Regions from separate parts of the Homo sapiens genome. Here region 2 is linked to region 1. The links are contacts of gene promoters, found by promoter capture Hi-C in blood cells and fetal thymus (Javierre and others, 2016). All regions are on one chromosome and are shown on one strand. The core of a region is centred on a gene start or on the middle of the fragment in contact, and the rest is flanking DNA. Distances in the headings are between cores, read along the strand shown.

Region 1 (3,385 bases), core at 355-2,854:
GCAGAAACAGAATCTGAACTCAAGTAAGGGGTCCTATTCAAATAATCTGACTCTATTAAGCAAAAAATTTAATCTCTTCCCACGTTTCTTAAAGTTTTCTTCCCCGTCACAACTCCAACTTCATTCTCCTGTCTCCAGGAATTTGCTTTCAAGGAGGATCATTGATCAGTAATTTGGACTTAAACATGAATTTTACTAATATCACATTCCAAATTTCTGCATTGTTACAGCCTTAGTTTTTGTTATGGAAATAGCTTATCCCCAACTACCCCGCTAACTCTAGTTACCAACCATTAGAGTAGGGCCTTTTTTTTTTTTTTTTTTTTTTTTGAGAGACAGGCTCTCACTCTTGTTGTTGCCCAGGCTGGAGTGCAGCGGCACAATCCCGACTCACTGCCGCTTTAGACTTCTTGGGCTCAAGGGATCCTCCCGCTTCGGCCTCCCAAAGTGCTGGGATTACAGGTGTGATCCTGCGCTCGGACAGTTGGGACATCTTAATACAGTATAACCTCATCTTAACTTGATTACATCTGCCAAGACTCTATTTCCAAATAGGGTCACATTCTGAGGTTCCCAGTGGACAAGAATTTTGGGGGGGGGGGCATCATTCAACCCAGTACACCAGCTAAATGTTGCTAGTCCTCACCGATTTACCCTTGAACCTCTTTTCTTATTGCACAGCCTCTCCTTTGACAGTCTTTTCCACTCCTATGCATAGATACAGTTAGAGCTAATATTTGCAGGAAAAAAATATTTTCACAGAAAGCTGTGAAGTGACAAAGATGTAAACAGTAATGTAAATGTTAAAAGTAGTGGCAAAAACAGCAATTACTTTTGCACCAACCTAATAGGGGCCTTTGCTTCAATGTTTCTTCTATTAAACCATCCCGACCGCTCCTCTATGGACAGATTCAAGATTCACAGACGCTACTCTAGCTGCTTAATTCTGGAGTAAAATAAAAACTTTCAGAAAGACTACTAACTAAAGTATTGTCTGTACGTATTATTCTCTAAAGCATCATTAGCATAGGCTTTGCAATTAGGAAGTCTGTGGGTTTGTTCCTGGCTCTGCCGTGGGACATTGGGAAAGTTAATCTCTCTGAGCGTCGGTCCCCACAGATAAGAAAACACATATTCTTGTTATTTCTTGAGAAGATTAAATATTAGGCAAAACGCCTAGCACAGAATAGGGTCTCAGCATCTTCTGCCCCCCAAGAGCATGAATCAAAGGTTCGGAATTGCGTCGTCTCTCGGCTGCCCCTTGGCAGCCAGGTCCTCAGTGACCTCTTCACAGTGAGCTGAGACCGAACCTCTTCACAGCCGCGCGTGGGTGCGGCTTTGGGGCGTGGTGGGAGGGAAGGATAGGGAGGCCGGCTCCGCCCCCTCAGGGCGACCGGCGCGCCTGATCGCCGCGGCCTCCGCGCCCCCGCACTCGGATTCGCGCCCGCCAGCGCCTCTTTTCCCCTAGTCCTGGCGACGGCAGCACCTGCAAGGGTGGGTCCAACGCGGAATGAGGCACAGCCTGGGACAGCCCGGGCCCGGCGCGCCGCGGCCGCGCGAGGCCCCCGCCGTCGCCGACGCCCGAGCGCCGGAGCCCCGGCCCCGCCCCGCGAGCGCCGAGACTTGTTGGCCGCGGAGACTGCGACCCTCTTCTCTCAGTCTGCCTTACTACCATGCCGCTCTACGAGGGCCTGGGGAGCGGCGGGGAGAAGACGGCGGTCGTGATCGACCTGGGAGAGGCCTTTACCAAGTGAGTGGCCGTGACGCCAGCTGTGTTCGACCCGAGGGGAGGGCGGGTGGCAGAGCCCCAGGCACTGCCTGGGTCCTCATCGCCGACTCGCTGGGCAGCTCCGGGCCTCCCCTTTTCTTCAACCAGCGCCCTTGCAAATAACAGCTCTTATTATTTCCTCCCTGGGCGATGCGAATCCGAGGATCGGGGTCTGACTCCCAGAGAGGCCCAGAAAGCTTCTGTTGAATTGCCCTCGTCGCCGCCCCTTGTCATCACCCCAAACCCAACAAACCCTTTGGGATCATCTGTGTAGGGGATGACAACCGTGACCTAGACCCCGCTTACCCTGGGCTCCTCAGTTGAGGAAGGCAGCCAACCGAATGTAAATGCTCGATGACGAATTTCATCATAAAATATTGAACGGAGTTTATTTTGGTGCTGAAAATGGAAAGATGTTTAAGACAGGGCTATCGCTGCTCAAGAATTAGGGAGACTGGGCACATTAAGAGGTGAAACCCTATAGATAAGATTCTGGAAATCCTTTGTTGGCTCCCCTAAACTCGAAGGTTAGATTTGACATGTTTTAAACAAACCAACTTGTAAACAATAGAGAGGAGGTTCTCAACCTTTCGGATGGCATAGATCTCTTTAATGGCTGGATGAAAACCACAAATGCACAAATCTTAAGGTACTTATACACAGTTTCAGGGAATTGGCAGACAATCAATGTGGTCCTGGGACCCTAGATTAAGAGTCCTTGTGATGGGCTCAACAGAGAGGGAAGTAACAGGCAATTACATCATATATGTATTTATGAAAATGAAACATTTGAAAAATCTTTTTATATCTCTAGGCACTTCCTGACGTGTAGTAGGTATTTAATAACTATTTATTGACTAAGTGGTTAAAAGAGCCTATTTAAAAATTGGACCCCAGGAACTCCAGAATTGGATTAAACATAGTCCTTGGTTAATGACATTCTCTTATTGTTCTATGCGAGGCCCTTCCTTATTTATATTTTCTTATTAAAATTATTTTGAAAGCGTAATAAACAGTTCGAGGCTTCTAGTCAAAGATAATTATTTTGGCTGTACTTGGAAGAAATAAGCAAAAAGCTATATTTGAAAAAGACAGCAGGAGGATGATAAGATAAATGTATGAAGTAAAAAAAAGGAATTGAAGTCTAATGGCTTGCATTCTGAGATGTTTGAGGAGCACTGATGCAAGTAAACATGGAGACGGGAATAGGAGGAGATGGAGAGAATTATTTGGGAATACGAGGAGAGCAGTATCAAAAACTAGACAGGACAAGAAGACAGGATGTTAAGACTAAACTAGTATGATGATCATTTTTAGCAACGTTTTTAGCAAATTTTTGTTTTACTAACATGAAACAAAAATGGAAATACCTAAATACTCAAGAAAAGAGCATCGTTTTTAAAATAATGAAATATGTGGTTTTAAAAATAATACTGTAATTCCAGCAGTTTGGAAAGCTGAGGCGGGCTGACCACTTGAGCCCAGTAGTTCAAGACCAGCCTGGGCAACATGGGGAAACCCAGCTCTACACAAAATACAAAATTTAGCCGGCGGTAGTGTCGTGCCCGAAATCCTAGCACTTTGGGAGGCCAAGGGGGGAGGATCGCTTGAGCCTGG
Region 2 (3,385 bases), core at 520-3,019, 2.0 Mb after region 1:
ACCCTGTCTGAACTAAAAATACAAAAAAATTAGCCAGGCGTGGTGGCAGGCGCCTGTAGTCCCAGCTACTCGGGAGGCTGAGGCAGGAGAATGGCATGAACCCGGGAGGCGGAGCTTGCAGTGAGCCGAGATTGTGCCACTGTACTAGCCTGGATGAAAGAGCGAGACTCTGTCTCAAAAAAAAAAAAAAAAAAAAAAAAAAAAGTGAAGGAAACAGAACCTTCCCCAAAGTCATGTTGAGAAAATTAGAGATGGCTTTTTACAACTTTAAAAGCAGCAGCTAAATATTTGCTGAATGCCAGAAAGAATAAATAGGTTGCTTTTGATCTAAGAGTTGGGGCAACAAAATGGTTTAGGAGATAGAAAGTAGTAGGGTGCAAATTGCTATAGTGAGCTCCTCAAGTAAAATAGAGAGGCCTTCAACATAAATTTACCTTTTTTACTGGCCAGAACTCAATTTGGCCAGTAAAAGAACCTGCCTTCTACAATGAAGTCTTTGGTTTGTGTGTGCATCAGAACATCTTTTAAAAATACGGACTTTTCTTCTAACTTCTTTTCCTGCGAATGTGGTGTAGGTCAAATTCGTGAACTGGTTAAGCCGCTGACAAGAGAGGGAAGGGCACCCCAGCCAATGGGAACCCGTGCTGGTGATGTACTGCTCCTAGGCTGCGATTCATTGGCTGCCTAGGGTTTGTCATTCTATCCCCGGCGTCTGCAAGCAGCGTGGGTCGGGTTTTCCAGCTAGCTAAACTGGATTTTGGCCGCTGGCACGTGCAGTTTCTATTAACTTTAGCTCATCTCTACCTCTTAATAGAAGCAGCTGTTATGTTTCTGATTATTCTCCTGATTTTGAAAAATCCTGTTCCCTTAACCTACCTCATTGGAGGTCGTTGGAGGTCCCCTGGGACAGAACCACGTGATTATCTAACATGTGCAAATAAATACAATGTGGAATCCCCTGAACTATAGAGGGAAAACCTGCCAGAAACTCAGAGCATGTGCCCCGTGCGTGAATCAGTTGCACTCGCACATTGGTGGGCGGTGGTAGCGTGCTTGTGTCTCTGCCCTTTGGGTCGCGAGGTGTGTGGCCGTGGCACCTGCTTGGGCTTCCTGGGGTCACTGGGAGAGGAAGGCTCTGGAGGAGTGGGACTCTGGGGTAGGGGGGTCTGGCAGCTGCCTGGGACCCACCATGGGTTCGAAGGGCAGCGGCCAGACCGCGACGGCGCCCAAGAAGGGTGGACAGCTTCGGGTCTGTGCTCGGGGCTGCGTGTACACCATCTTCGCAGGGAGTGGGGTTTGTATCTGCAGGCAGGTAGAAGAGCCAGGGCTCCGGGCGCGGACGCCGTAGGGGTAGCTTCCGAGTCCCTACTTGGCCAAGGGCCGGCACGGAGGGGCTGTCGATCTACTGGGCACCTAATAGCCGCACATTCTGTCCAGTCCCTGGCGCCGGAACGTGAAGGCCCGGGTCCTGGCTGCTATCCGGGATCCGGACGCTCCCTTCGGCTTCGGCCTGGTGCTCCAGGCCGTAAGGCAAAGGCGGCGGCAGCAGCAGCGGCAGAGAAAGAAGCTGGGTAAGGCAGTGACGTCATCTGTGGCGGCCCCTCCCCCGCCCGCCAGCCCTCACCGCAGTTCCTGCCCAACGACATCCGGGTCTCTGTAGCTGCGCGCCGCGCCGCAGCTGTAGCGGCGGCGGAGCCAGCGGGGCGGGGCGAGCGGAGGGGTGGGGGAGGGGCGACGCGGTCGTGAGCGCGCCTGCGCGGGGCCGCGCTAGAGGCGGCGGCGGCGGCGGTGGCGGCGCTAGGGACGGGAGCGCGCGCGGGAGCTAGAGAGCAGTGGTCTCGGCGCTCGTCCGGCCCGCAGCTTCGGGTCCTCAGGCGGCTGTTGCTCCGGAACGGGTGGTTGGGGAGGGGGGGGTGGGGGGACTCTAGACAGCTGAGGCGCGAAAGCGATGAGTCCTCGGCTCTTCCTCCTCCTTCTCCGGGACCCGCTCTCTGCCTCCCTCTCCAACGCCCGGATGATCTGAGCCGCGAGGGCGCCGACAGCCGGGGGCCCGGACGCAGCCCGGCTCCTCCCCTCCTCCGCCCCTTCCCCAGCCTGACCTGGCCCGCCGCTGCAGCGGTGACCCCTCCCCCGGCTGCCGCCGTCGCCGCCGCGGTGACCCCCTCCCCGGCTGCCGCCGCCGCCGCCTCGGCCGACCAGGGACCTGCCCGCCTGCGGCTGCTCCGGGTAAGTGCGGCGCTCGGGCCGACGGCGGGCTGGCGGGCGGTGCGGGCCTGCGCGGCGGCGGCGGCGGGCAGGCCTGGGGCCTGTAAACAAGCCGGGCGTCTGCCCGGGCGCTCCCGGGAGGAGACGCGACAACTCCACCCCCTGGCCGGCCTCCTCCCCCGAGCCGGGCGGCGGACGGCGAGGGGTTAACGCTCGGCGAGGGCGGTGGCGGGGAGGCGGGGGCGGGGTGTTAGTTGCGGTGGCGCGGGGAGGGGGCGCGACCCTCTGGCCGTCCGCGGCCGAGATGGGTGTTTGTGGCGGCGAAGCAGGCGACGGCCGCAGGCCGGCCTGGCCGGAGAGCGGCCTGCAGAACTTTTCCCGAGCGGGGAGGGGGCGTCCCCGCGCCCCCACCCGCTCGGGCGCGCCGCCCCGGCTGTCCTGGGCTTCAGCCCCTGGGAGGGAGGCGGGGAGACTTCCTTTGAACCGGGCTTAGCCTCGAAAAACCTAATTCTGTAGAAATTGCTTAAGGTTTTACAGGGGGCAGGGCTGAGAGACTCCTTCAGAACTCAAGTCAGTGAGTGATGCCTCTAGTTCATTCATTATTAAGGCATCGAACAAATCCATTGAAGTAAATTCCGATTTCTTATCCTTTTAACTACGTAAATCGGGTAAAACTTCTTGATGTTAGAGCTTGGTTGAGGTATGGTTCTGTTCTGCTTGTAGATTTTAAATAAACTTGGAGCCTTTTCTTGAAAGACAGCTGGCTGTGGAGAGCCTTCTACCAACTGCAGTTTTAGATACGTTTTGAAAATTTCATCACCTGAGGTATTTTTCTTCTCTCCTGAAACACCACATGGTACAAATCCACAAAAGTCATGCTTCAGTTGTCCAAGCCATGGGATCTGTGTGCTAGCCCCACCTCCCCGCAAGTTTCCTGCTCATTGGAATAATGAGCTGAATGTGTTTTAAGAAGTGGTTGGAAGAGTATGAGAGATAGGTATCATTTTCTCAAAGGAAATGATTTTGACATTATTGAGAGAAATTAGACATTTTAACAATTGTTTTGTAAAACAGTCTTTTCAAACTTGCACGTTGGGGTTTTAAACACAACCACTTTACATGTGTTGCGCTCCGAAAAGTGGAGGGATTTGTTGAAACACTACTCTGCTGAGACTTAGGG

The links. The method cuts DNA at HindIII sites, captures the fragments that hold promoters and counts their contacts. A CHiCAGO score of 5 or more calls a contact.
Region 2: the fragment with the promoter of PPM1A here is called in contact with the fragment with the promoter of ACTR10 in region 1 in 2 of 17 cell types (naive CD8 T cells and naive CD4 T cells); the score reaches 5.1 in naive CD8 T cells.

What each region holds. Positions count from the first base shown.
Region 1 is chr14:58,198,545-58,201,929 of GRCh38, forward strand. It overlaps ACTR10 (actin related protein 10), which reads left to right and starts at 1,605. Exons shown (of 13, transcript NM_018477.3): 1 at 1,605-1,750. The coding sequence starts at 1,674. RefSeq lists enhancers at 1,048-1,177, 1,798-1,987 and a silencer at 1,248-1,637. The HindIII fragment of the contact is 4,366 bases long and covers 1-1,963 here.
Region 2 is chr14:60,247,452-60,250,836 of GRCh38, forward strand. PPM1A (protein phosphatase, Mg2+/Mn2+ dependent 1A) reads left to right here and starts at 1,770. Exons shown (of 6, transcript NM_021003.5): 1 at 1,770-2,226. RefSeq lists enhancers at 324-573, 1,116-1,844, 1,154-1,203, 1,264-1,613 and silencers at 1,714-1,813, 2,014-2,753. The HindIII fragment of the contact is 6,782 bases long and covers 1-3,385 here.